5 separate regions of the Homo sapiens genome follow, and all the other regions are linked to region 1. Evidence: promoter capture Hi-C in 16 types of primary human blood cells and fetal thymus (Javierre and others, 2016). All regions are on one chromosome and are shown on one strand. The core of a region is centred on a gene start or on the middle of the fragment in contact, and the rest is flanking DNA. Distances in the headings are between cores, read along the strand shown. Region 1 holds the start of GATAD1 (GATA zinc finger domain containing 1). Region 2 has its middle 14 kb from the start of MTERF1. Region 3 has its middle 73 kb from the start of SAMD9. Region 4 has its middle 55 kb from the start of MTERF1. Region 5 has its middle 33 kb from the start of MTERF1.

Evidence for each region. Contacts are between HindIII fragments. The CHiCAGO score rates a contact against its expected background, and 5 or more counts as called.
Region 2: a fragment that was not itself captured here is called in contact with the fragment with the promoter of GATAD1 in region 1 in 4 of 17 cell types (naive CD8 T cells, endothelial precursors, fetal thymus and 1 more); the score reaches 6.2 in naive CD8 T cells.
Region 3: a fragment that was not itself captured here is called in contact with the fragment with the promoter of GATAD1 in region 1 in 3 of 17 cell types (activated CD4 T cells, neutrophils and total CD8 T cells); the score reaches 5.3 in activated CD4 T cells.
Region 4: a contact is called between a fragment that was not itself captured here and the fragment with the promoter of GATAD1 in region 1, in 11 of 17 cell types (naive CD8 T cells, naive CD4 T cells, non-activated CD4 T cells and 8 more). The highest score is 11.6, in naive CD8 T cells.
Region 5: a fragment that was not itself captured here is called in contact with the fragment with the promoter of GATAD1 in region 1 in 3 of 17 cell types (endothelial precursors, fetal thymus and erythroblasts); the score reaches 7.2 in endothelial precursors.

Annotation. Positions count from the first base shown.
Region 1 is chr7:92,443,344-92,449,010 of GRCh38, forward strand. It overlaps GATAD1 (GATA zinc finger domain containing 1), which reads left to right and starts at 4,139. Exons shown (of 5, transcript NM_021167.5): 1 at 4,139-4,635; 2 at 5,409-5,534. The coding sequence starts at 4,387. RefSeq lists a silencer at 4,059-4,828 and an enhancer at 5,259-5,308. The HindIII fragment of the contact is 4,596 bases long and covers 2,229-5,667 here.
Region 2 is chr7:91,864,141-91,869,834 of GRCh38, forward strand. No RefSeq gene overlaps it. Among named protein-coding and RNA genes, the nearest start is that of MTERF1, 14 kb to the right of the region's middle. The HindIII fragment of the contact is 1,726 bases long and covers 3,113-4,838 here.
Region 3 is chr7:93,041,989-93,047,892 of GRCh38, forward strand. No RefSeq gene overlaps it. Among named protein-coding and RNA genes, the nearest start is that of SAMD9, 73 kb to the right of the region's middle. RefSeq lists an enhancer at 1,873-2,604. The HindIII fragment of the contact is 1,561 bases long and covers 2,932-4,492 here.
Region 4 is chr7:91,823,065-91,828,486 of GRCh38, forward strand. No RefSeq gene overlaps it. Among named protein-coding and RNA genes, the nearest start is that of MTERF1, 55 kb to the right of the region's middle. The HindIII fragment of the contact is 5,722 bases long and covers 139-5,422 here.
Region 5 is chr7:91,844,332-91,850,473 of GRCh38, forward strand. No RefSeq gene overlaps it. Among named protein-coding and RNA genes, the nearest start is that of MTERF1, 33 kb to the right of the region's middle. The HindIII fragment of the contact is 2,333 bases long and covers 175-2,507 here.

The sequences.
Region 1 (5,667 bases), core at 2,889-5,388:
TTTTCCTGACCCCGCAGGCAGTCAGACTTTATGGTTGTCTTCCCTTGTTCCCTAAAAATCGCTGTTATTCTGTTTCTTTTCAAAGTGCACTGATTTCATATTGTTCAAACACACATGCTTTACAATCAATTTGTACAGTTAACACAATTATCACAGTGGTCCTTAGGTGACGCACATCCTCAGTTTACGAAGACAACAGGATTAAGAGATTAAAGACAGGCATGAGAAATTATAAAAGTATTATTTAGGAACTGATAAATGTCCATGAAATCTTCACAATTTATGTTCCTCTGCCACAGCTCCAGCCGGTCCCTCCGTTTGGGGTCCCTGAATTCCCACAACACCCTCCAAGAAAGTGTTATTCCCTCTGTTGTCCTGTGCACTGTAATGCACAAAATAACTTATTTTGATGATCAGGGTCTTGGCCTCTTGACATACACACTGAAAAAAATGGGAGTTGTGTTATGTGCGTCCTACATAAACATGTCAGCAAATGTGGCCACCACTTTTTAATTCTCTTTTCTCAGATTGCCCTGAATTTTGCCACTTTGAAGTAATGTGCTGAATAATCTCAGCAACCAAAAATGATTATCCAGGAATGATTCTTGTGAGCTCATTTACTCTGAGTTATTATATCCCTTTTAGTAGATTTTATACCCCTTTAGAAAATGTAAGAAGAATGAAAACATCTTCTTTTAAAAATGCTGGTGTGGGGCCATGCCTACTAGAAGAGGCCAGATGGTCAGATAGGTATTTCCCCAAACCCATCTTGACCTTGAGTATGTGAGGGGGTACTGTACTTCATTCCTGATACATTTTGGTTTCCATGTTGGCACTGAGCTCTTGGTTTTCTGTTTGGATGGTGGAGATTGGGGCCCTCCTATTCACAGTCCCTTTCTAAGTGAAGGGAAAGGCTGGTTTTTGCTGTTCCTTGTGATTCCAAAAACCCTGATTTGGGGCCCATGTTCAGGCTGGCTTTCACGCTGGCTCTCAGTCTGGTCAGATGCAATGTTCTTGAGAGGAGAGGACCTGACTGTTACCATAGTAGCATCCAAGAGAGGAAACAGTGTGAATTAAGTACTCAAAAGGAAGCACGATTTCCAAAAAAAAAAAAAAAAGGACTTGCAAGGAGAAAAATGTAAATCTTCCTAATGATCTAAGAAGATTAGAGGATACAGCAGCCAGGGACTGGGGAGCTGACAAGGACAGAGGATGAAGATGAGTGGGATGAGGAGGAGTTGAGAAGCCTGCTGTTGGGTGGTTATTCAGTTGGCCCTCCACAGCCATGGGTTCCACATCCACAAACTCAACCAACCACAGACCGAAAATATTCTCAAAAATAGATAAATATATGAACAATATGACAATAATAATAAACCAATACAGTATAGGAACTATTTATATAGCATTTATTTCATATTTGGTATAAGTAATCTAGAGATGATTTAAAGCACACAGGAGGGTGCGCATAGGTTATATGCAAATTCTATGCCATTTTATATAAGGGACTTGAGCATTTATGGATTGTGGATTTTGGTATCATCGGGAGTCCTGGAATCAATCCTCCATGGATACTGAGGGACAACTGTACATGTGGATATTGACCTGATCCATGGCAGTGTCTTGTAGTGGAGAGGAAGCTGGTGAGTTATGGGCCAAAGTTTTCAGTGAATGAGAGGGAGTCACTTGCAGATGAGTTGCAAGGAGAGGTATATGTTCCCAAATGGAGAGACATTCAGGAGCATGGAAATCAAGTGCCTAGATTTCCTCACACTGTAGGTGAGGAGAAACTTCCTCCTCACCTTTTTTTTTTTTTTTTTTGATGGAGTCTCTCGCTCTGTCGCCCAGGCTGCAACCTCTGCCTCCCAGGTTCAAGCAATTCTCCCGCCTCAGCCTCCCGAGTAGCTGGGATTACAGGTGCCTGCCACTACACACAGCTAATTTTTTGTAATTTTAGTAGAGATGGGGTTTCGCTATGTTGGCCAGGCTGGTCTTGAACTCCTGACCTCAGGTGATCCACCTGCCTCAGCCTCCCAAAGTGTTGGGATTACAGGCATGAGCCACTACGCCTGGCCTCTTCTCACCTCTTTGGTTCTGTAGCTGGGCATGGGAATTACACTAACATAAGACAGATTTACTGGAAAAGGCATAAAAGTTTTAATATTTTTGTACATGCACAGGAGGCTTTGTAAGAAAAATAAAGACCCATAGAAGTTACTAGGCCCGAAAGCTTATATGTCCTTTTAAACAAAAAATAATAAATTGCAGGGATGTGACAAGACAAAGGGGCTTGGGCTAAGGCTGGCAAATTGTGGGAAAGTGACGAAGAACCGTATGTAGAAAGTTAATGGAAAATATGGGTTACAAATTTTTGTAAGGTTTTGTTTGTAGATTCTTCTCAGTGGCAACTCTGCCTCTGGCAATAATATTCTCCTCTTCCTGGTACAGAAAGGGCACCTTTCACAAGGGAACTTTTATGTTCCGCTTCAAACAGAAAGAGGGTGGTCAGACAGCCTTCCCTGCATCTGTTTTTGCTCCATTGCCTCTGGCTCAGAAGAATCAGTATGCCAAAGTGGCATATTTTAGGATGGCAGGCTCTAAACACCTTCAGCATTGTTCTAAAGTGAGACAACACTCTTTACCTAGTCTCCTCAGCCACTTTTACAGTTGGCCCTAATCCCCATAACAGTCCTGGAAACTTATTTTTACTGTTAAGGAAACTGAGATTTAGAGGGGAGGTGACTGAGCCACAACCCACACCCCAGAGGGCTGTTCCAAAGCCCTCCTCGAAATTGGTGCCAAGGGCAGCAGCTATAATGACAGCCAGTCCACATAGAAGTGCCTCCGTTGATCACCAATTAACAGTAAAATCTGATAATATCTCATTCCAAGGTTGTTATAAGCACTAAATGTGGTTTTGTGACATAATAGGCGTTTGTTTCTCCCCACTGCTTCCCACCACAATATATTCATCAAGACCTTTCCAAGGATACTAAGTCTAGGAAACCCAGGATCATGAAGAGAGGGCATGTTCTTCCAAGTGAGGCTGAGGAGAGACTTGTCTGGCGAGGCCTGTACTGACTAGTGACATTAAAAGAGGCGATCTGACTTCTCATACTGCTCTTGTCCCAGGCCTGCTGTTTGTCAACTGCTGGGTCCTCAGAGCCAAAACTGTTTTCCAACAGTTTTGAATTGAATAACAGCCAGCTATTCGATTTTCTCCGCATTCTCTAATCGGTATACTCTTCAGAGTCCACAGGATTTGCAACGATATTATCCAACGGCTGAAGAATGTGCGCTTGACATCTTAGGCTGTAAAATGTCTCAATTTCAATTTCTAATACATAGATGTCAGTGGATGGCATTTTCTGAACCCTTTGTCGATGTCCATAAACGGCATGCTCTGAATTCAACTAAACAAAAGTATAGACATGGGGGAGGTGTAGGGCGATGTCCAAAGTATAATTTTTAAGAGTGTAAAGGGTTCCTAAGTAAGATTGCCAGATTTTTTTTTTTTTTTTGAGACGGAGTCTCACTCTATCCCCCAGGCTGGAGTGCAATGGCGCGATCTTGGCTCACTGCAGCCTCCACCTCCCGCGCTCAAGAGATTCTTCTGCCGCAGCCTCCAGGGTAGCTGGGATTACCCCAGAGCCCGCCACTGAGCCCGGCTAATTTTTGTATATTTATTAGAGAAGGGGTTTCACCACGTTGGCCAGGCTGATCTCGAACTCCTGAGCTCAAGTAATCCGCCGGCCTTGGTCTCCCAAAGTGCTGGGATTGCAGGCGTGAGCCACCACGCCAGACCTGGATTGCCAGATTTAGCACATAAAAATACAGGACCCCCAGTTAAACGCCTCTCGGATAAACCATTATTGCATGGGATACACTCACGCTAAAAAAATTGTTCGTCGTTTACCTGAAAGTCACATTTAATTGGGCGTCCTGTATTTTACCCGGCAAATTCTAGGCCTGAGACCAAAAAGTTTGAGAACCCTGCCCCTAGGCGACAGCAAGCGGAACTGCAGCAAGCTCCCAGTAATTCCGGGTGCTGCACTTCCGGTCAGGCGGTCGGGCTGCGGGGCCCTGGGGCCAGCTCACCGCCGGAAGTCTCCGCGTCCCCCCCACCCCGGCCAGATCCCTTTCCCAGTCCTGCTTCCCAGTGCCTCGGGCCAGGGAATCCTGGCCTCCGCCTGCGGAGCCGGCGGAACCCGCTTCCCGCCTCCACGGGGCAGCGCCAGCGGCCTGGTCCTTTCACCGGCAGCTCCGTGCCGACGCTCTCACCGCTCTTCCTATCGCCGGGAGTGGCGGGCCGACCAGGGGGCGGCCGGGCTACCGTCCGCCATTCCCGTGTCTCTGCGCCCGCGGGGGCCGCCCGAGCCGGCCACCATGCCGCTGGGCCTGAAGCCCACCTGCAGCGTATGCAAGACCACGTCGTCCTCCATGTGGAAGAAGGGAGCGCAGGGGGAGATCCTCTGCCATCATTGCACTGGCCGGGGCGGCGCGGGCAGCGGGGGCGCAGGCTCGGGGGCGGCTGGAGGGACTGGGGGCAGCGGCGGCGGCGGCTTCGGCGCGGCGACCTTCGCCAGCACCTCCGCCACCCCTCCGCAGAGCAACGGGGGCGGGGGCGGCAAGCAGGTGAGCTCCTCCGGCCCCTCCCGCCGGCGGAGGCCGACCAGGTGCTAGGCGGGCGGGGACGGGCTGGCTGGGAGCGGGCGGGCGCGGGCTTCCCCGATCGCCGTGCTCCTGCTGGCTGGAACGCCCCTCCCCACCTCCTACTGAGATCTTTCGTTTGGCCCATTCCGAAGCACCTGTTATTGTAAGAAATTCAAAGCAATAAGAACCAAGATGTAAAGCCCTTAAGAAAATCTCAATATACACATGTCTACACAGTCGTATACAGTGTCATGCCACAAATGCAGGCGCTGGACCTCATTCCTTGTTAAAGGTTTTGTCATATCAGGTTATGAAGTAAGATTATTATGTCATTATTGTAAATGGCAGCTTAAGTATTCCGTTGCAGGGGGCGCCATAACCTACTACGTTCTCTGGCCTTAGGGAGTAAAGTTGTTAAGTGTTTTTCTCTATTGTAGACACAACAAATGAATAGTGTTTGTCTTGGTCAAGACTGACTCCTACTCCCGCCTCCTGCCCTATTACAAGCAGCTCACACCTTTTGGAGGCTCTGGAGACGCCTGTCCAGCGAGCTCCGAGATTCCGGGTGCTGAACTTCCGGTTTTACTTAGCCTAGTTGCTGTAATTACTTCTCTTGAAAAGCAAAAGGGCAATCTTAATTGTTAAATGCTCTTATAAAGTACATACTCTGGGATCCTTGTAAGATGATTGTACTGCAACCTTTATGCACTTTTTACTTCTTTCTCTTTTTGTTCTTTAATTTGTTTGTGTAACAGAGTAAGCAGGAAATTCACAGGAGGTCTGCTCGGCTCAGAAACACTAAATACAAATCTGCTCCGGCTGCTGAAAAGAAAGTCTCCACCAAAGGAAAAGGGAGAAGACATATATTTAAATTGAAAAATGTAAGATATTTGTGGACAGTGCCTTTTACTGTAATGACGTTGTGTGTATCCTGCCACTGCCTTCATTTCTCACCATTGAACTTGGACTCTGCCCTTGGTAGCCCTTCCTTAGTATTCTGGGGAATGGTCCAGA
Region 2 (5,694 bases), core at 2,726-5,225, 580 kb before region 1:
GGGAAGGATTGGGCAAATGTTGGCCAAAGGATACAAAATTTCAATTAGACGGGAGGAGTAAGTCCAAGAGATCCACTGTACAACATGGTGACTCTAGTTAATAATAATGTGTTATATACTTGAAAATTGCTGACCAGGCATAGTGGCTCATGCCTGTAATCCCAGCACCTTGGGAGGCCAAAGCAGGCGGATCACTGGAGCCCAGGAGTTCGAGACCAGCCTGGGCAACATGGTGAAACCCTGTCTCTACAAAAAACTACAAAGAATTAGCTGGGCGTGGTGGCGCATACCTGCAGTCCCAGCTACTCGGAAGGCTGAGGTGGGAGGATCACCTGAGACAGGAAGGTCGAGCCTGCAGTGAGCTGTGATCACACCACTGCACTCTAGCTAGGCAACAGGGTAAGACCCTGTCTCAAAAAAAAAAAAAATGAATGAAAGAAAAACAAAATTGCTAAGAAAGTAGATTTTAAGTGCTCTCACTACAAAAAAAGATAAGTATGTGAAATAAGGCATATTTTAATAAGCTTGATTTGGCCATTCCACAATGTATACATATATCAAAACATGTTGTACACCATAAAAAAAATACAATTTTTATTTTTGTCACTTAAAATAGTTATACCATGGAATACTATGCAGCCATAAAAAGGAACAAGATCATGTCCTTTGCAGGGACATAGATGGAGCTGGAAGCCATTATCCTCAGCAAACTGACACAGGAACAGAAAACCAAACACCACATGTTCTCACTTATAAGTGGGAGCTGAACAGTGGGAACACATGGACACAGGGAGTGGAACAACACACAATGGAGCATGCTGCAGCAGGGGTTGGGGGAGGAAGAGCATCAGAATAAATAGCTAATGCATGTGGGGCTTAATACCTAGGTGATGGGTTGATAGGTGCAGCAAACCACCATGGCACACATTTGCCTATGTAACAAACCTGCACGTCCTATCAGTCTTTGATAACCTTTCCAGGAAGTTCCATTATGCTACATGGAAAGAAAATGGGATTCTCTGGACAAGCTCTGAGCTCTATTAATTCTCTATGGTGACCTCCTGAGCCCAAAGAGGCCTCCTGGAATGCCAGTCTTTTCCCTATAGGTCTCAAACAGCACATCCCTTAACCACAGCGGTCCAGGCTTGCCAAGTCTCCAATTTACATAAAGACAAGTCATAAATGATATGTGATGTGGAAGAATGCTTATCATATATTTATAAAAACAGGTTTAAAATAGTTATTACATAAGAATCCAGTGTCAAGCACAATAGTGCATAGTCAGTGCTCAACAAATATGTGTTCAATAATTTAATTAATTTTAGCCAGAAAATGGGTATTTATTTTCTACACAAAACATACATGCATGGGGAAAAAAAACTAGAAAGTTATATTAAATAATATTAACAAGTACTATCTCAGGGTTATTGGAATTATAAGTACTTTTTGTGTGTGCGCTCTTCTGTGTTTTCCAATGTTGGGTAATTACATGACTATTTTGCAATCAGGAAAAAAATATTATTTTTATAAACAAACCAACAAACTATCAAAGCTACTACTGAGCTCTTCCATGCTCCCAACAGCATCAATGTTGGCAGTAACTCAGAATGTGGTCTTTATATAAATAGCAGTTTGACTGGGAAAGGAGGAGAGGGTGTACTTAGGTTCTCTGAAGGTCCTAGTTGACCAAGCCATTGCCAAGGTGTCACCCTTGCTCACGGACTCTAGGGAAGAAAATATAGGAGCACAAGGCAAAACTTACCTAAAGAAGTATTAACTTCACCCTAGGGGATTGGGAGAGGGAGAGAATTTCTCTATCTGATGACAGATCTGTTCCAGAGTCTGCTGTCAAATCTTCAGATGTCAGGTAGAATTTGAACCAGAATTCAACTTGATTAGGGCATGATGCAGACAATAAAGACATAACATCATTTAACTCCAGAGACTTCAACCTCTTTTGTAGCCACCATAACATCTAGGGCATGCTTTGTACATATGGTGCTTTATACCGCATTTATTTTACTTTTTTCGAATTCTACCATTTTCCCTCACATATCAATCCTCAGATCTAGAACTATTTACCAAATCACAGTTAAGTGGGCAAGGTCATTAAAGCAGCTATTAGATGCCATGGGAGACCCAAGAGCACATGCATTTGTTTGCAACTTTTTCTAAATGATGGAGAAATCAAGGATAGTTTATAATGTGCATATAACATTTAGTCTCACAACAAAATCTGATTCCCTCACTTCAGATGTCACAATTAGGATCTCTATTTAAAAAAACTCCTAAACCCCCAAAAAGATGAAAATTTAAGATCAGTTGCAATCATGTGGAGAACATACCACTTTATGTTGGGTTTTGTGTACAAATACACAACAAATACCACCACAGAAGTTGACAGGTGAAAATTAAGTAAGAACAGAAGATTTGGCAGTAGTAACTGAATAAGTATAAAGACATTGCTGTATATTTTTAAGCATTAACATTGTGTAACAAACAAGGTGTTAAACTTAGATGAAAATGAAAAAAGCACCCTAATGTAATTTCAGAACTAAGACAATGAAAAATGAAAAAGTGGTACTTGAAAAAGAAAGAAAGAGAGAGAGAGAGGAAGGAAGGAAGGAAGGAAGGAAGGAAGGAAGGAAGAAAGGAAGGAAGGAAGGAAGGGAGAGAGAAAAGAAAAAGAATAACCATTAAAAGAAAACAGTTTCAGACATTAAACTAACAGGGAAATATATATATGCAAAAGTATCTGTTTATTTTCTTACAGCTTAAGGCTGACAACCTACAGAAAAAATGGCACAGTGCCGACCTCTTTTGGCATTTAAAGGACGCTTAATTTAGTTTGGATTATCAGCCAGATTTAGAGCTAATTGGCTTTAGAAACTGTACAGCAAAACCTCTATCTAGTTCCCCCTACAGTTCATGAAGTTCTACACACAAGTAAACACAGATTAAGACCTAATTTTAATCTTTTTAATCAGTTATATATAATTTATATACTTGTTATCACAAAGTTAAACTTTAATTCTGTGAATAATTTATCACATTCAGCTAAAACAGTAAGCTATAGCCAGCTGTATTGTACTTATATGAATTGCAAACATAAAGCTTCATTCAGAAGGGCTTCTGAAGTAGCTGTGCAGGTCAGAGAGAGAAATTCAAACATACAGAGTGGGATAATGCTGATCTAACTGCACTAATTTTGTCATAGACACTTTAGTTGATATTTAGGGTACAACATGACAATCAGTTCTCCCTAACTGCAGTAAAGCAAAAAAAAAAAAAAAAAAAAAAAAAAAAAAGATTGCCTCTAACTTGGGTGGTTGCAGCCTACTTTCCTTGGAAAAGGAGGCTATATGTAGCTGTATGACAGCGTAAACCCAATCCATTAACTAATTAAATAAACCAGTGCTTAACAGGGCATGGGACTTCATAAGAGCCTTTGTTTTCTTGTGACGAAAAGGTCAAAATCTAGGTTTTTTTTTTTTCTTCTTTAAGAGATGGTGGCTTCCTATGTTGCCCAGGATGGACTCAAACTCCTGGGCTCAAGGAATCCTCTCATCTCAGGCTCCCGAGTAGCTAGGAATACAGACACGAGCCACCATGTCTAGCTGGAAGTTAGACTTTATCTGCATTCCTGGAATAGTAAAAGCAAAGCACGGGTCAGCTGCTTTCGGTAAATTCTAGCCCATAGGTCCAAGTCAAGTTCCAGGAAGCCCCCTATGAAAAAGATTCTGATATTAGTACCAGTGTTTAGTTCATGTCATGGCCTGACTTAAGTATAGGTCATTAAGTGTAATGCCAAGGCAGGGGCTTGAGTGGTTTGGAGCTCATGACTGTTCCACTTGGAATTTATCCTGGTGTATGAATACGAATCTATCAATATTTTTTTTCAGGTGGCTTCCCAGTTCTCCCAACACTTTTACTGAAAAGATACTGTCTAACTATTTATGTCAATATAGAAACATAAAGTCAAATATATTTGTTTAGTAGACTTGAAGAGAGCCTAGAAACACACTCAGAGACATGTAAACAGCATCAGACGAAGATGGCATTTCAAATCAGAGTTGAATGGATTTTTCAGCTTTGCTGAGGTATAACTGAAGTGTACTAAACTGCACATATTTAAAACATATAATTTGATACATTTTGACTCACAAAACAATCACCACAATCAAGATGATGAATATATAGATCACTCCCAAAAGTTTCCCTGTAGTCTTTTGCAGTCCTTTCTTCATGGCCTTCTTCATCCATCCACCCCATCTCGGTAACCAATGATCTGCTTTCTGTCACCACAAATTAGTGAGCACTGTCTAGAATTTTATGTAAACTGAATAATAAAGATTTTACTCTTTCGCTTCTTTCATTCAGCATATTTTGAGATTTGCTCATGTAGTTGCATGTATCAATATTTCATTATTTCATATTGGTGAGTAATATTCCACTGCCTGAATATATCACAATGTACTTTTCAATTCCATGTTGTTCCAATGTCCATTGGGTTACTTCCAGTTTTTGGTTATTCCAAGTAAAGCTGTTTGAACAAGTACAATTATTTGAATAGACATAAAGCATGGCAATGTTAATTTCAATGTAGAATTCAAACCAAAATGTATTAACTACAATAAGAGAGAGCTTTATATTGCTGTCTACCAAAAAGATACAGGTCAATAGCTTTCATATAAGCCTTTACAACAACTTTCCATTGTTGTAAAAGATCTATTCTGAACAAAACACCAGGCCCAGATAATTTCAAAGTTGTGCCAAACTTTAAAGAAATGATCATTTCCAGTTTTCAAACAGTTTCAAAACATAGGGAAAAAATAGTAAGCTTCCAAATTATCTTGAGGCTAGCACAGCCCCGATCCAAAAACCTGACAAAGTGGCAACCTCCTTCCCCTATTAAAAAAAAAAAAAAAAAAAAAAAAAATCTATGTACCAAAACTTTCATAATAAAAGGTAGGAAGGATCTGTAGACCAATCTCCCTTGTGAATACTAATGAAAATCTAAGTAAAATATTAGTAAATTGAATAGGGCATAGGTTTTAAGTAAAAACAAAAAGTGATATGCAGAAATCCACTGATGTCATTCATTAAATGATTAAGAGATTACTTTTAAAGGATTTTTTTTCAAAAACCATCTTTCATCCCTGATTTAAATAAATAAACCCCTTTGTGAACTAAGAATAAAAGGATATCTCTTCAACCTCATGATAAATAGGTTAGCTGAGACTTTGTTTCTTTGTATTGTTCAAAGACTTTTACAATGATTATTACCACAGAATAAATTCATTTCCAAGGTAAACTTTTAAAAGAAAGAGAATTATGGTGGGCAGAATTTGAAGGTACCTTGAGAGCTGGTGAAAGTGGCACTGGGATATTCAAAATGGAAATGAAAGAATTAGCATATCATCATACTAAAATTGTTCATAATTAACATAAAGCAATTCATGTACAAAAGTTCATTAATCTTCACATAATATTTCTATTAAGGACAAATAAATCCCAAATACTGATCAGAAAAATAGTGAAACTGAGACAGAAAATGAAATTCCATCAGTGTATCTTCTATTTCTTCCCAAAATCTAATAATAATACAGTCCTGCTATTCTAGCTCGCTTGTGCCAAACTTTTCCTGAACTGTATAACAATGGACTATTACCAAAGTTTGTGGCTAGGGTTCTG
Region 3 (5,904 bases), core at 2,462-4,961, 600 kb after region 1:
GGAGCCACTACAAATAATATAATACTGGTATTAAAGGCTATTCATGATTACATTTCTGAGTAAAAAGGAAGTTATAGAACAATATGTTTAACAAGATCCCATTAAAAAGAAGCGATCCTCTCTCTATAGGTACATTAAATGTATATTGCATGTATACAAGCATATGCAATACACACATATATTTTATACACATATATATTATACAGTATATGTGTTTGTGTGTTTAAAAAGACTGGAAAGATACTTGTTGGATTTGTAAGTGATTATTCCAGGGGAGTGGGAATGGAGGTAATTTTTACTTTTAATTTTAAACATTTTGGTATTGTTTTCTTTAACAAGAAGGTGATACATTAATAATTCAAAACTTTTTTTAAAGATAGAGCATATCTGCTATTGAGAGTGTACTTTGTAAGTGATGTCCATTTTTTTTCTCTTTCTCTCTCTTTTTTTTTTTTTGTAGAGATGGGGTCTTGCTATACTGCCCAGGCTGGTCTAAAATTCCTGCCCTCAAGCAATCCTCCTGTCTTGGCCTCCTAAAGTGGTAAGATTACAGGCATGATCCACTACACCTGGCTGGATGTCCATTTTTATGTATCTTCTCTAAAAATGCATTATGTGTACAACTGGGTCTTCAGTATCTGACTTTTCATCCCAGGCTCAAATGTTTCCTAGACTCTTAAACATGCCATTGTCACTTCTGAAGCATAGAAAAGGCACAGAGAGATAAAATGATTTAAAAAAAATCATCATCCAAGTTCTTGATAGTGGTAAGTCAACAAACTAAATCATAATTAATATTTTGCTTAGCCACCGATGAAGTGATATCAAATCTTATTAAATATGATTAATTAAAGCATTGTTGTAAATAAACACAAATCACTGACCACCTCAAAGCCTTTGCAGCCACTTTTGAGAAGTGCAGCTCTAAGACTAACTTGGATTTTTCCACTCCCAGTCTCATCCTCAGACAGCCCAATTACTGGGAAACACAAGGCTGAATTTGAAATTATTTTATGGGGGCGATTTTTCTGTCCCCTTACCCCCAGTTTCAACTCAATTAAGGATGCTTTCTTGTTTGGCGATTGCCCGATTGTGGGATATCTTCATATAAATTCCCCCAAAATGGAATCATGGATAGATATGTTGTAACAAACTGCACATTCCCTGATGTTTGCTTTTTTCGAAAATGCGTTAGTTCTACCTTCTTTTTAAAAATTCATTAATTCATTTATTTCTGCAAAGAGGGAGCGCCTTTAAGTCAACACACACACACACACACACACACACACACACACACACACACACACACACACACGAATACCCAGGTACTCAGGCCCATGCAGTCAGTCATTTACTAAATCAATCTAGGCTGGAGAGACTGTCATCCTTCAGCCCTACAAAGGGGCTCAGTGTGTGCATCTTGCGCGGAATTAGTGCAGGCAAACAGTTCCTGGAAGGGTGAACAGCTAGCTCATGTGTAAAATGATCGCACATCGGTTCCCCAGCTGCCGCAGCCCAGCGCCGGAGCCGGAGAGGCCAGGGAAGAGCCTTCCCCCGAGGCCAGCCAGGCAGAGACGCGGGAACATAAAACACATTCCAGCGGTTGGCATCTGGGCGCGCAGCTGCCAGGCGCAGCCACTGTGTGGCCGCGGGGGCTGCGGAGCGGGCGGGGGCAGAGCAGGTCCGGCGCCAGGCCTGCAGAAAGCGGCCTGCGGGCCAGTTTGGCTCTGCAGGCTGTGGCCTCATTACTGAGAGCAACAGTTTTATCTAGAAAGTGTGCTGTGGGGGATTTTGGAATCCTCCTCTGGGGCGAGGGCTTGGGGAGTAGCTTTGGCACTCCCAAGGCTCTGGGGTCGGGGAGCATTCCATGTACCGTGGTGTTCATGACTCAGGCAAAAGGGAAACCCCAGAATTACCACAAAGCTATCCCAATCCTGGCTTGGCATCACCAATCAGCTAAAAGCAATGTTTTCATTTAGCATTTAGGAGTGCACGTTTGTGTCTGTGTATGCGTATGCATATTTTTAAGAATGAATTCTCCCGATTTTCATCTTTGCAAATAGATTGGGGGTTGGGGGTAGACGGCCGGTAATGCCTATTAGAACTTCAAGGGATTGGTTTTCACATGAGAGAGCTTCAGAGATGAGAAATCGCTGAAATTATCTGGTAGCAGCTTCTGAGGGACATTTACCGTGGATTCACTTTTACATTTCAGTTCATTTGAAAGCCAGTATGGTTAAATTAACCAAAATCTAAATTAAAAAAAAAATTCCACGATTCTTCCAGGCCTACTTCACATCATCAAACCAGGCCCTGCTGGAGGCCCCATTAAAATGGCAGCTCCCACTGAGAGAGAGACAAAAGCCCCCTCTCTGAATGGGGATGCTGAAACAGTGATGGACTCTCAGAACTGCTTTTTTTTTTTTTTAATCCATTAAAAAAAAGTTACCTCTGCATTGACTGTGAGAGAGTATTTATTTCGCTCTCCACACTGTGGGAAACAGAGGCGTTCTCCCTTATAAGGACACCCAGACCTTCTTGGGAGAGGAGAGAAATATGAATCCATAACATGGCTGAACAAATTCCTCCTCGCAACTGAATTCATGGAATGTTTCAGACGTGAACAGCTTAATTTTGGTGTGGTCTGGGACAAATTAATATGACTCAAATCCCACCTCACAGAGGAAGCATCTCCTGATGAAGTGGGTGGGGTGAGTACACTCACTTCCTTCAAAATTCTGTCTAACAATCATCTCTATTAAATTTCAATATGTCTCACCCTCTCCCCCAGCAAGAAAAAAAAAACAAATAGGGAAATCAAGAACAAACTAAAAATATATCTAAAAAGCCTAACTGCAAAGTGTTCAGCAAATGATTATGTGAAATTTTAGGCTGTATGAATGATAATGAGTTTGTATACAACAGAATAAAAGCTTCTAGAGGGTAGTCCAGAAACTGTATTTTGGGAGTGAATACATTAAACAAGATCACTCTTCTAGGTTCTCATGAAATCCCAGTTATCGTTATTCCAACCCGGAAGGCTTAGGGATGAACAAGGACATATCATTCTTTTCTTCCAGAGGATGAACTGGACTTTTCACCTTAGCATTTAATCGGACACCACTCTTTTCCCATAGAGGTGCTCAGTCTCTAGCAGGGAAGGCCATTTATACATGAAAATGAACTGTAATGTTATCCTCTCCAGGACTAAATTTATTTACTTTTGTAAAATGGGAATAATTTCTTCACGCTTTCAAAGTGGAAAAATGATTGCTAGCACATATGGGAGTAGATTCTTGAGTGAAAGTTACTATAAATATTAAATATACAGTGGGATTTAGGAACCCACTTGCATGTGGCTCACACACATTACCTTATATTTACAGAAGGCAGTGGTGAGAAAGATTACTTTTCAATGATCAAAAATAGAAATCACGTTTATTTGGCTTTGAACTGCATCATATGCTTGTTCTTTCTACATATTTAGCATGTAATTATGTTTGGGTTTGGTTTGTGTTAAAAATTAGATTACATTTCCTGAACCACTGATAATCAGCAGAAGTTCTTCAAGAAGCAAGATGGGTTGTTAGGCACTTTGAGGTGGAATGCCAGCCAAGATGCCATTTTTGAGATGCCCCTGGGCTCTATAAGCACAGGAGACCATTAGAGACCATGAAATGCTGACAAACCCAGTGTGATAATACCACTCTGTGTGACAATCTCTGTAGTGGTAGAGGCTGTATATGTACTCTAGAACAGTGCTCCCATTCTAGAGTGGGGTTCTCAGAACACATGTCCCTTTCCAGATGCATCTGCTATACATAGTTTTTCTATAAGAACACTATTTTGATCAAGAATCAATAGGAGAGACATTTAATTTAATATCACTGTTAAGAGCCTTTGAAAAATGCTTATTAATAAAAGATACAAATTTATGCATCCCCTTTTCATTACAAGAATCATACACCATCAGAGGTAAAAGGAACATCCTTCAGAACTGGTTTTCAAATGCTTTTTTTGACTTGAAATAGACTCCTTTTAAAAATGGAATAAAAAGAAATAAAAGTCCACATGGCATTCCAATATGTAAAATAATACCAGTATGTCTTACTGAACAGGGGAAATACATAGGGTTTCAGAAGTTCATTTTGAAAATCACTGTGTTAACATGTTTCCTAAACTTCCTGAAAAAGAAACTATATGAATCATCTCAGGATGCAAAGGAATAGTAACAAACACAGAAATCCTAAAATATCGGGGAAATGGTATCATTGTACTAAGATGGCACCTACTCGTATACAGATGAAGAAATGGGAGCCTGATTGTTTGCAACAAATGGCCAAAGGTTGCACAGCTCCTTTAGGACAAATTCAGGATGCAAATTCAATGTTTTTCTCCCCAGCTTGCGGGTCACTATCTGATGCCGCCTCTGGAGTCTGGAATGCCTTTGAAATCAGGCTGTATGACACTCTAATCAATTTTAATGATCTAAAGCTTTTATAAATTGGTGAAAAATTTTATAGCACAAAACTACTTTCTACATTGTTCTGTGCTGCCACAAAAATCAATCACGATTCTCAGGGATATTTTTATGTTCATATATTGATGATAATCATTCCTTATATTTATGTAGCTAGATATGCATGGCTTAAACACCACCACATGCATTCTGGGACTGGACATAGGACATGACATCCTTGACCAGTAAATCCCTTGAATGAGTGCATTTTCCCCCTCTGTGCATGTCTCCTTCTCGTCCATTGTCTGTCTCCTTTTCATGCCTGTCAGGCGATGGCCATGACTGTGCACTTATAAAGGTCAGTGACCCAGCAGAGAGGGCAGGCCCTGCAGAAGGCGTGTTGATGAAGCATTACAATGCACACTGAATTTGTTAGCTCTCTGGCTTACTCCCAGGGGCAGGCTACAATTGTTTCCTGTGTGGCATGGCACCCACCCGGAACTCTTATGGTATGGGCCATTCCAACCAGGAATCTCTAAACCACATCCTACAAAATAAACATCCCATATTTCCCAGCTCACTAGATTCTTATACCTGGCTCTCCTTCCCTTAATTTGTACACTATACCCAGTGAAATGAATTAAAACAGAGTTATCTCTTATTTACATAAACAGCCATAGGGAGGTTTTCAAGGGATTATTTGCAAAACTGGGAGGCCACATAGATAATAATAAACTCACATCTTTCAGGTTGAAAACTTTTAGAAGGCTGAGGTCTTAAGCCTCTTTATATTACAAATACTAAATTAAACAAAAACAGACATGGCATTTCCTTTGAGATTGTCTCAAGGAAGGCAAGCATTTATTTCTCTCTTTGGAGCATCTACCTTTTAATAAAGCAATGATTATCTAGAAATGGAAACCTGTGATTCAAAAATAAAAGATTCACCTAAAATTTCAAATTTGCTGTAATTTATGCTACCTGTGCAAAACTTTTTACTGAAGTGAAATAGAATGAAAAAGTTGCCTGCATATGTTCTGGTTCTGGTTGTGTTGCAGTAGTTTGTATCAGACTGCCCTTCCTACAGATAACAATTGTGAACTCTGGACAAAATATTAAAAGAAAACAATTGAAACATACTGGGGAGACAACAAAGCAGCCCAAAACCAGAGAGAATTTGATCCTTGAAATAAGGAACCACATTAGATAAAATCAATGTATTTATTGATTTTTCCAAAGGTGCTCTATACTCCACTTGGTGCAGGACAGCTAGAATTGAAGCAGAAAGCTACAGTCTTATTGACCTGAGGAGTCAAAGGATAGTGTTTGGAGCTTTCACAACATCTGGAAATTGAGGGGTAAAAATCCCAGAGAGAAAGATCACAGTGGGGCTAGGTAGGCCCCAAATCTGCTCATAATCTCCTCTCTAATCTTTGGTGACCCTG
Region 4 (5,422 bases), core at 1,750-4,249, 620 kb before region 1:
TCTATTTTGGTGTATTTTGAGGATTTGTTTCAAGATTTAGAGCCGCTTTTAGCAGTTCCTGTAGTGCTGGCTTGGTAGTGGCAAATTCTCTCAGCATTTGCTTGTCTAGAAAAGACTGTATCTTTCCTTCATTTATGAAGCTTAGTTTCACTGGATACAAAATTCTTGGCTGATAATTGTTTTGTTTAGGAGGCTAAAGATAGGACCCCAATCCCTTCTAGCTTGTAGGTTTTCTGCTGAGAAATCTGCTGTTAATCTGGTAAGTTTTCCTTTATAGGTTACTGATGCTTTTGCCTCACGCTCTTCAGATTCTTTCCTTAGTCTTGACTTCAGATAACCTGATGATTATGTGCCTAGGTGATTATCTTTTTGTGATGAATTTCCCAGGTGTTCTTTCAGCTTCTTGTATTTGAATGTCTAGATCTTTAGCAAGGCAGGGGAAGTTTTCCTCAGTTATTCCCTCAAATATGTTTTCCAAACTTTTAGATTTCTCTTCTTCCCCAGGATCACCAATTATTCTTAGATTTTTGTTATTTAACATAATCCCAAACTTCCTGGAGGCTTTGTTTATTTTTTAACTTTTTTCTTCGTCTTTGATGGATTGGGTTAATTCAAAGGCCGTGTTTTTGAGCTCTGAAGTTATTTCTTCTACTTGTTCTATTCTGTTGCTGAGGATTTTCTGTGTATTTTGCATTTTTGTAAGTGTGTCCTTCATTTCCAGAAGTTGTGATTGCTTTTTATTTATGCTATCTATTTCTCTGGAAATTTTTCCATCCATGTCCTATAACATTTTTAAAATTTCTTTGAGTTGGTATTTACTTTTCTCCGAGGCCTCCTTGAGTAGCTTAATAATTGACCTTCTGAATTCTTTTTCTGGCAATTCAGAGATTTCTTCTTGATTTGGATCCATTGCTAATGAGCTAGTGTGATCTTTTGGGGGTGTTAAAGAACCTTGTTTTGCCATATTACCAAAATTGTTTTTCTGGTTCCTTCTCATTTGGGTAGACTACATCAGAGATCCAGTGTTCAAGGGCTATTGTTCAGATTCTTTTGTCCCATAGGGTATTACCTGGATGTGGGTGCTCAGGGATGAGGCTTCATGAGAGCCAAACTGTAGAGGTTGTTACTTCTCTTCTGGATCTAGCTGCCCAGCAGAGCTACCAGGCTCCAGGCTGCTACTGGGGAGTGTCTGCAAAGAGTCCTGTGATGTGATCCATCTTCAGTTTTCTCAGCCCTGGATACCAGCACCTGCTCTGGTAGAGATAGCAGGTGAGTAAAGTAGACTCTGTGAGGGTCCTTGGTTGCAGTTTTGTTTACTGTGCTAGTTTTGGGTTTGTTGGCCTCCAGCCAAGAGGTGGCACTTTCAAAACAGCATCAGCTGTGGTACTATAGAGAGGATACAGGCTTACCCTAGTGTCACCTGGAAAAGTTTCTCAGGTAGTTGGTGTGGCCATACAGCTCCCAAGAGATTATGTCCTTTGTCTTCAGCTACCAGGGTGGGTAGAGAAAGACCATAAGTTTGGGGCAGGGTAAGGCATGTCTGAGCTCAGACTCTCCTCAGGCAGTGCTTGCTGAGGCTGCTGTGGGGAATGGGGGTGTCATTTTCAGGCCAATGGAGTTATATTCCCAGGGTGATTATGGCTGCCTCTGCTGCATCATGCAGGTTGCCAGGGAAGTGGAGGAAAGCCAGCAGTTACAGCCCCCACCTAGCTCTCACCCAGCTCCCACACAGCCCAAAAGGCCGGTCTTACTTTCACCGTGCCAACCCCCCCAACAGCACCAGGTTTATTTCCAGGCAGTGGGTAAGCAGGGCTGAGGATTTGTCCCAGGCTCCAGGCCTTCCCGCTGGGAAAGCAAGTAGGGCTTTCAGGTTTCATGCCTTCCTGCCTGCCACAACTTCTGTGCTGTTTCTGCGCTCCCAGTTCACCCTCTCACCCAGATTCTGTCCAGGAAACTTCATGTTTGGTTGAAATTGTTACAAAGTTCAGCTGGAGGTTTCCTTCTCCCTGTAGTCTTTCCCCAATTCCACTGGTATCCCTTCCCAAGGACCCCTGTGAGACAAAGTCAGAAATGGCTTCCCTGGGAACAAAGAGTGCCCACATGCTCTTCCCACTGCTTCGTCTACCCCTGTATTTCACTCAGCTCTCTATGTTTATCTCAGCTCCAGGTAAGGTCAAATCCTTCTCCCATGATCTGGACCTTCAGGTTCCCCAGTGAGGATGTGTGTTCAGGGGCAGACGATCCCCCTTTCACACCTTCACACTTTGGGCACTCACAGTTTTTTGGATGTCTCCCAGAGCCTGCACTTCCTTCAAAGGGTCTGTGGATTCTCTCGACTTTCCTGGTGTATTCCTGCACTAGTTCTTGGAGCAAAAGTTCACAGTGTGAGTCTCCACACACTGCTCTGTCCATCCAAGTGGGAGGTGTAAGTTAGTCCTGCCACCTATCCATCATTTTCCTCACAAAACTTTTGAAAAACTGTTTGAACTTTGGAAACTACTGAACAATAAAATCTATATTTGTTGTGGGCTTGCCCTAATAAAAGTTTGTAAGTCACTTTTAATTCCTTTCTTAAAAATAATTGCATAGCTAATAATCCTTGATGTTTAACCAACTGCAGAACTTGAATTGTCAATATTTTTATAGTATCTATACCTAGAAAGGCTTATGGAAAACAATAAGGAAACAGCTGTTTTCAAGTCCTCATTAGAACTTAATTTTAGGAATCTTTACACATTCTGATGCAATTTTTACTCTAGCAGCCTAACTACCATGTGTATTTTATGAAACTCCAAATGTTGGCATTTTATCCTGTATTTGAGAAAAAGCATTAAATAATTTATTTTACACTTCTTTCAAGTTTTACCTGCTTAGAGTCTAATAGTCTTTCTTTAAAGGCAACAGAGAAACATCATGATTTTTTAAATGAGATAAATGTTCCAATGGCAAATACACTATAACCATTATTCTGCTACTATTCATAAGTGTTTCCCTACTACACAGCCAGTGTCTGGTACAACAGGAAACTGTTAATGTGATTTTCATTTGTTCCTTGAATATCTCCAGCTGAATATGTGAGATTTTTTTTCCTTAATCTTGGTCCTATTTAGTTTGGGAGGTTTTGTTTATTTCTTTGATTTTCAGTTGTGGTGGGGTTTTTTTAGCTAAGATATAGCAAATAATGTTAAAAGATGGATTTTGATGGGTATAATTTTTTCTTAATGAAATCTACAAACCAAGTAACTGAATTTTTAAATCAGCCATTCTGGATATCTTCTGCTAGTGTTTTAAAGCCTCAGATATTTAGGTGGAAAAGTCTAGAAAGAATAACATTATATAAAAGGATTCAATTATAATCAACATTTTTCTTGTCGCCCATATACTCACTTCTTCCCTTGCCCAGCCTAAATTCCACAGTCAATCACTAAAGCATTGTCCTGCATGACACTCAATTCCCTACTCCACTCTCTCTTCTCTTAGTCACTTGGCAAAACTTCAACCCTCATTAAATTCTACTCTGTCTGCTCTATGTGGCTGATTGATCTCACTTTAAATTCATGACCACTAAACCCCAGTGGGCCCACTATGCTACTTTGTAATCACAGTATATTTCCTATTCAAGTAATTGTCCCACTCTCCTAGGCAACTGCCTCATAATCTCTCCTCAATCTTCTAGCACCTTCTCCTTTATCCTCACTCTTAGCTGATAACCTTGGTTCCTATTTCAATTAAAGAGCCAAAGAGATTATTTTAAAACATCAGTCAGATGCTTACAACCTTCCAGTGGCTCCTTCCCTCTCATAGTAAATGCCAAAGTCTTTACGATGACCTGCATGACCTGACACTATTACATCTCTGATCTCATCTTCTATACTTACCCCTCTTTTATTGCTCCTTCCTTATTGACCCCTTTGTTGTTCAGTTAATACATTAAGTTCTCTCCTACCTCTGGGCCTTTGCACCTGCCATTTCCTCTGCCTAGAACGCTCTTCCCCTGTATATATTTTTATGGCTCACTCCTTTGCTTCCTTTCTCTTTAAATATCACCTTCTCAATGAGGTCTCCTCTGACCCTTTTATTTAAATTTGAATCCCTTCATTCACCCTGGAACTCCCTCTACCCTTTTCCTGCTTTATTTTTTGCCACAGCACTTATCACCATCTGCATACTGTATGCTTTACTCATTTATTTTGTTTTTTGCCTATATCCATCTACTAGAACATAAGTTTTGGCCTATGGGCCAGAATTATAGCCTATTTTGTCCACTGTTGAAACTCTAGCACTTGAAACTACTTTATACCTACTGGGTGCTTAAGCAATATTTGTTGAATGAATGAATAAATAAAATACCTTTATTAAAGGAGGTGTGTCGAAACTTCACCTGTTGGCTTGCTAGTTTATGTCAGGTTGTTCTCTCTGTAATCGTTAAAAACAAGCACTTAAATCCACATTTGTATTTGGTCAGTAAAATTACAAAAATAATCTTACTTTTAAGATTAAGCTGTGAACAACGCTGTGTCCAGCAGGAACATCTGTGAGCCGTTTCCTTTGCCCAGAAAAAGAGAGTTGCTGTTGTCCACTCTCAGTGATATCTCAGAAATAATGGCTTGTAGCTCAAAGATGCTTTCTCTCTTTTTACAAAACCATAAGACCCACAAAAATTACATTAGAGCCAGGATTTGCTTAAGTCCCACTCACATTAACCATTATTACTCACCTCCCTACAAGAGTACAAAAGTAACCAAATGTTCCCTTCATGTTAGTCAAAGTTTTTTGTTTTTTGCTTTTTGGTTTTTTCAGACAAGGTCTCTGTCACCCAGGCTGGAGTGCAGTGGTATGATCACGGCTCACCACAGCCTTGACCTCCAGGGCTCAAGCAATACTCCCACCTCAGCCTCCCAAGTAGCTGGGACTACAGGGGCCTTCGTGTTAGCCAAAGTTTTTTATTTTTGTTTTTTGAGACAGGGTCTCTGTCACCTGGGCTGGAGAGCAGTGGCGTGATCTTGGCTCACAGTAGTCTCGACCTCCTGGGCTCAAGCAATTCTCCCAACTCAGCCTCCCAAATACCTAGAACTACAGGCACACACCATTGCACCCAGCTAATTTTTGTATTTTTTGTGGAGATGGGGTTTCACCATGTTGGCCAGGCTGGTCTCAAACTCCTGGCCTCAAGCTATCCACCCATCTCGGCCTTCCAAAGGGCTGGGATTACAGGCAGGAGCCACGTGCCTGGCCCTTGTTAGTCAAAATGACATCCCTAGGCATTGTGTGTGTGTGTGTGTGTGTGTGTGTGTGTGTGTGTATGTGTATGTGTATATATATATATATATCTTATCTCCAAAATGTATTATACCATAAATCACTCAAAGTGTTTTCTTATGTCTATTTTTAAAGATAGCATTACATCGTATAGATCTATATT
Region 5 (6,142 bases), core at 91-2,590, 600 kb before region 1:
AACTGCTGGTCTCAAGTGATCCTCCAACCTCAGCCTCCCAAAGCACTAGGATTGCAGGTGTGACTCACTGCACCCAGCCAAGATAATATTCAGAAGATGAATCTGTGAGGTAGCTAAAAGAAAAGAAGTATACTATGGTGGTCATCAACTTGATCACACATCTGAAACTTGAAAAGCTTCTTAAAAATTCATTCACCAGGTCTCATAGAATTTAATTCAACAAATATTTATTGAGTCCCTAATTTGTGCCAGACACTGTGATAGTCACTAGGATAACAGCTATCCTATACTCATGGATCTCACAGTTTAGAGAAACAAAAAGAAAAAAAGTAAACAAAATAATTATCAATCATAATAACATAATTTTTAAAAAGAACTGAAAATAGAAAAAAGAAAATAAAAACAGTAAAACCAACTCTAGACGAGATGTTCAGGGATGGCATGACTGAAGAGAGAATATTTAGCAAGTTCTCCTGTCAGTGAGAATGGAGAATGGGAAGACCACAGAGGCTTTCAAGACTGGAGTGCCAAAACCTTGTGGCTTTACCTACTTTTTACTGGCCAAAACAAGTTATGAGACAAGCCCAGATTCAAGGAGTGGGAAAATAGACTCCATCACAAATGGAAAAAGCTGCAAAGTCTGAAATGGCTGTGAGTACAGACAGGCTGTTAATTGTGCCATCAACACACTCAATCCACCTCAGCTACCACCACTGTGTGTAGACTCCTGACATGCTCGGCTTCCTCACTGGAAGCTACCATTCTGGAGTTAGTCTCCAGCTGGATCCTTCCTCTCAAGATCTGTCCTGCCTTCTATACCACCTCTTATATTCCATCTGCTTCCTTCACTCCATTTCCTATTGCCTTGAATGAACCACTGGGGCTCCCACTACCATTCAGATGAGTTCCAAGAGGCTTATAACTTCTAAGCACTGTCTCTGCCATGACAACAAATCTAAGCTGTCTTTCTGAGGATGAAATACCAACCTACAGCCAGCAGATATTCAAACATGTGAACAAGTCCAGCCAAGATCAGCAGGGCAAACTTCCAGACCCATAGCTAACCATAGATGCCTAAGTGAGCCCAGTTAAGACCAGAATAACTATCTTACTGATCTATAAATTCCAGAATAACTACACCATGGTCCATAGACTTCCACCGATTCCAATCCAATTATAAACAGCAACCATAGCAGAAACGCAGTCTTGTAGACTAGACCATGATGGTGGGAGGTGGGGGAAAGCAGAACTACAACTTAGTGCTAACATGATAAGTCAGTAGTGGTAATCCTAAGAGTGGAACTGGCAAGGAGATTTAGGGGAGTAATTCTGATCATAATTTAGGATCCTGAATATGGGCAAGGGAAAACCATGAGTCTGATTTTGGACAATTTTGATGGAGATAGTAGAGATGTTTGACAACAGTTGGCAATGTGGACCCAAGGTTTGGAAAACAGTTGCTGGTAGAAGAGCTAGCAATGAGATTAGAGGAGAGAAAAGGAGAGAAAAGGCTGCTGCTGTAGCCTTGGTTAAGGCTAAATTAGAGAAAACAAACGGGAAGAAGAGTCAATTTAAAAAAAAAGGACAAAGTAAACAGAAAGAAATCCAGGATATTGCAGTGTCTTAAAAGGCATGAGAGGCCAGGTGCGGTGGCTCACGCCTGTAATCCCAGCACTTTGGGAGGCCAAGGCGGGCGGATCACGAGGTCAGGAGATAGAGACCATCCTGGCTAACATGGCGAAACCCCGTCTCTACTAAAAATACAAAAAATTAGCTGGGCGTGGTGGCGGGTGCCTGTAGTCCCAGCTACTCGGGAGGCTGAGGCAGGAGAATGGCGTGAACCCGGGAGGCAGAGCTTGCAGTGAGCCAAGATCACACCACCGCACTCCAGCCTGGGCGACAGAGCGAGACTCCATCTCAAAAAAAAAAAAAAAAAAAAAGACATGAGAGCAGATAATTTCAAGAAATGGGGCATTAAACACTGTCAAGAGCTGTAGCAACATGAAGGCAAATGAGAACTCAAAGTTCCTATTATCAGGGGATCAGTGAATGAAAATGAACAAATATTTTAAGACTGACTCACAGTGAGAATTATAGTAAAATAAGGACTTTAATTTATAATTTTGAAGTATTTAACAAAGTTTTTGTAAATGTCATGCAGGCCTAGCATCAATAGAACAAAGCAGATGGGGAAAAAAGTGACCAGGAAGATAGCCAGTGTAGGAGTCTCAAGAAGAAAGGTATTTATCAGGAAAATATAACTACTATTTTTATAAAATTCCTGCAATTGCTTATAAAAACCACAATACTCCTTGAAGTCTGAAAACATTTTGAATATGCTTCACTTTGCAGATTTAGAAATAGTTCCCTGGTGAGGGTTCAGTTTTGAAGGAAGAGGAGCCAACAAAAAAAAAAATCAGATTGCATAAGAAGCCAAGTATAATCTTTCTTTGATGGCACTCACTGGGCATCCTATGAATTTATAATCAAGAGCTTCTAATTGATAAAGCTTTGATAGCACAAAAGGTCACCATGGATTACTTGGTCCTGCTATGCAACATACTGTGCTCTTCACAAACATTAGCAATTAACCGCAATAAATAATGACATGAGTCACCCCTTCAAACATAGGGCAGCATCCTGAAGCCCCTTACCTGCAGTAAACAGCAGTCAGAACTGGCCTTTGTTGCAAACACTTTTCAGTTGTTTTCCATACCGCCGATAAATTCTCCTCTGAAGTTTATGATTTTTTTTCCATTGAACATATACATTTATATAGGGTATAATTCTATTCTCTCACATAAGACAACCATATTTTCAAACAAAGTTTCCATATCATAAGTGATACATGTATGAACTTGTCATTTTTGTAAATCTATTTAATTAAATTATTCTTTCTTTTAACCAAGAACTTTTTACTGTCCTAATGACTTATTATGTTAATTCAGGGCAACTGGCAAGAAGGAATTAGGTGCCATTCTGTTGTAACACGTCTCATTTCCATTCCAATTTTGTTCACAATAAATGTGTTACAGTTCTTCCATTGGCAGTCAAGGAAACCTCATACAAAAGCAGCTTTTACTTGCGGTTATAAAACAGCCAAGCAATACATACGCTATTTGACAGTTTGGAATATCTGTTTTCCAGCATTCATCTGGAGCTGTTATTGGAACCATTAAAATTATTTTCTTTATAGTTTTTAAAGGCCCACAACATGTTAATTTATCCTGATGGATGGTATAATGCGTTCATGTAAAAGAAAAACAAGTGTTACATAAAACATGACTAAGCTGTCAACCACCTCCTCTTTACCTTCCTTTTAACTCTGCATGTTTAATTTATTCTCCATTGAAAATGGCAACCAATAAAAAATAAAATCCCCATTTTGATTTACTTTTTACTTTTCACACCCCTTATCACACTGAGCAATTTTTTGATCCAAAATAAGACTGAAACTTCTGCCTTCACACAAAAGTAAACACAGATGGTCCGATAATAGTAGCGAACTTTACACAAACTGCCCCATTTGAAGCAGGCCTATTTAATGCCACATTTCATTAAATATGACCTATCTTAAATCGGACAGGCTCTCCTGCAAGGAGCCAATCTTTATCTTTATTTAAACTCAGTGTGGCCTGTCACTATAAAAGACTTTGCCTTCTTTGAACAAGGGTAGACATTAAAGCTAAAGAACAGGGTGGGCCTCCTTACCCCAGCCAGGCCAATCCAATTTACAAACAGATTGTATTCAAAGGCTCTTTTGTCAGTCTATTGTAGGATTTTAAAAGCATTTTACCACAGAAACAATGTTATACCCACTGGTTAGGTTCTTAAGAAAGGTCATTTAAAAGGTTAAAAGCCTATTTAACCCAACATATAGTTGTGCTGATATTTTAATAGGAATAAAACGCACCTGTGTTAAGTAATACTATGGAATGATGTATAATAATGTCTCTGAGGAAATTCATTAAGAATTCTGACCTTTTATGCCTGTGACACAACTTCTGGTAACATCATCCTCACTTCCCTCTTGCAGACCTCCCCTGCTACTGGGCAACAGGAGTTCAACTTCCTTGTCCTAAATATAAACCACCAGTATTGGCCACTATCATCTGGAGCCAGGGCTCCAGCATAGTGGAAGATTTATGTAAGGGCGTATGAAGACAGAGACTGGGTCTGAGGGGTGAAAGTATGGGATGGGGTCTAGGAAGTTAGGAATCGACAAAAGTCTTCTGCCAGGGTACACCTCAGGCCTCACTCCTTGGTCTAGCCTGTACACCATCATTCTTTTCTTCCAGCAGCCCTGGGATTGTTCTGATTCCCCTCCAACTGCTACCACCTGTTGCTTCCACCAAGGTTTCACTCTTCCTCCTGGTCTACTGCATCACAGAACAGCAGTCTTGGCTTTTCTCCTTTGTTCCCACGTATCCTTTTGAAGTTTCCTAAAGATTGTTACAGCTGCTAACAAAGGAGGTCAAGAGATAAAAGTGTTTTTCCAAATTTGCCTTCCACATCTTTTCTTTTTTAATTGAGACTAAGTTGAGAAAAAAGCACACTTGGATAACAATCGGTTTGGTGGGGGTGGGGGACAAAAAAAGGTATAAATTTGTTTTACAACATTTAAGAGCAAGACAGCTCACATTAAATGGATATGTTCTACTCAGAAAAAAAAAAAATCTGGCTCTGCCCTCACCAGCCAGAAGTATCAAGATATTCCAATTCACTTTTGGGTGACTGCCTTCTCCTCTTCAATGCCCCCCACCAGCATGGGGAAGCAGGATGGTGCCCTGAAAACAAAGTAAATCTCTTATGATCCTTAGGCCATCATGATCACACATGAGATGTTAATTGCCTCAGTCCACCAGTCCATTCAAAGAAGGACCACACCATTCTTCTGTGCCAGGGATCTTTTAAGCCAGCTTCCATGACAGTTATAAATGTTTGCTGTCCACAGTATCAACATGAACCACCTCAACTCTCCATCCAAAGACTTATTAAAAGGCAAGGGGACAGGTTGCAACCATTCATTAAGCTATCACCCAGATTAGTACTCCCCCCAAATCTCTGAAAGCTATTTCCATTCCTGCCAGTTCTGTTTCCTCTGCCCTCCCAGAAAACCCCTCACCTTCATGCTCCCATTGCCTCCCTCCCTCAACATCTCTAATCCCAAAACAATAACATGGGTGATGGGGTTTTATTCCAGAGACCAAGAAACTTCCATTTTCATCCATGTTATTTTTCAGGTCTGCCATATAAAGGCAGTTTATAATACCTTGAAGCTAGGAATCCCAGAATCAGAACATAACAGCTCCTGGGGATAATGGAAACAACAACAAAATGTCAATAAATTATCCTGACAAATACATTTTAGAGGAATGCTCAGTCTCAGGTTTATCCAGTTATTCCATGATAGGTCTGCTGTGAAGACCAAGCCAGGACCTTAGATATGGGTACTGAGTAAATGGCATAGAGGATGAAGATGCTACCAAAGAGACCTGCATACTGGGCCTGAGAGAACCCCACCAATAGCAGGGGATGTTTACTCTCCCCTTCCCTTTTCAGTATTCTTTTCTCTCTGCTTTATGATCTTGTGATTCATTCATTTGCAATATATAATCTCTAAAGCCAACATTTATAACAGGCTTACCATATACCAGGCGGTATGACAAATAAATGATTAGTGTGATTATTTTAATTCTCACAACTCAGTAAAATAGTTTATTATTACAACTTACAGATAAGGAAACTGACAACCTTAAAAAAGTATTATATACATTTAAAGCTACAAAGAACTTATAGCTAAAAAGAGAATATAAGACTTCCTAATTATCAGAACAAAAGAACAAAACATAACAAAAATCAAAGAAAATACACCATATGGTGAAATTTTTAAAAATCAATAAACACAGAAAATATAACCTAAAATATGATGTTAATACTGAGGCAAAAAATATCTGTCATATAACTAAATGTATATGGGATAAACTCTATTTAAATAAAAGAGTTCCAGTTTTCAATAAAGGTGGTCTAGGATTTGGTGGCCTCACTCAGAAAGTTGAACTTTGCTTATTTTGAGGGTGCTCATCCCCATGGAGCATTTAATGATTCTGAAAGGGGCAGCTGAGAGGCTAAGCAGGGCTTT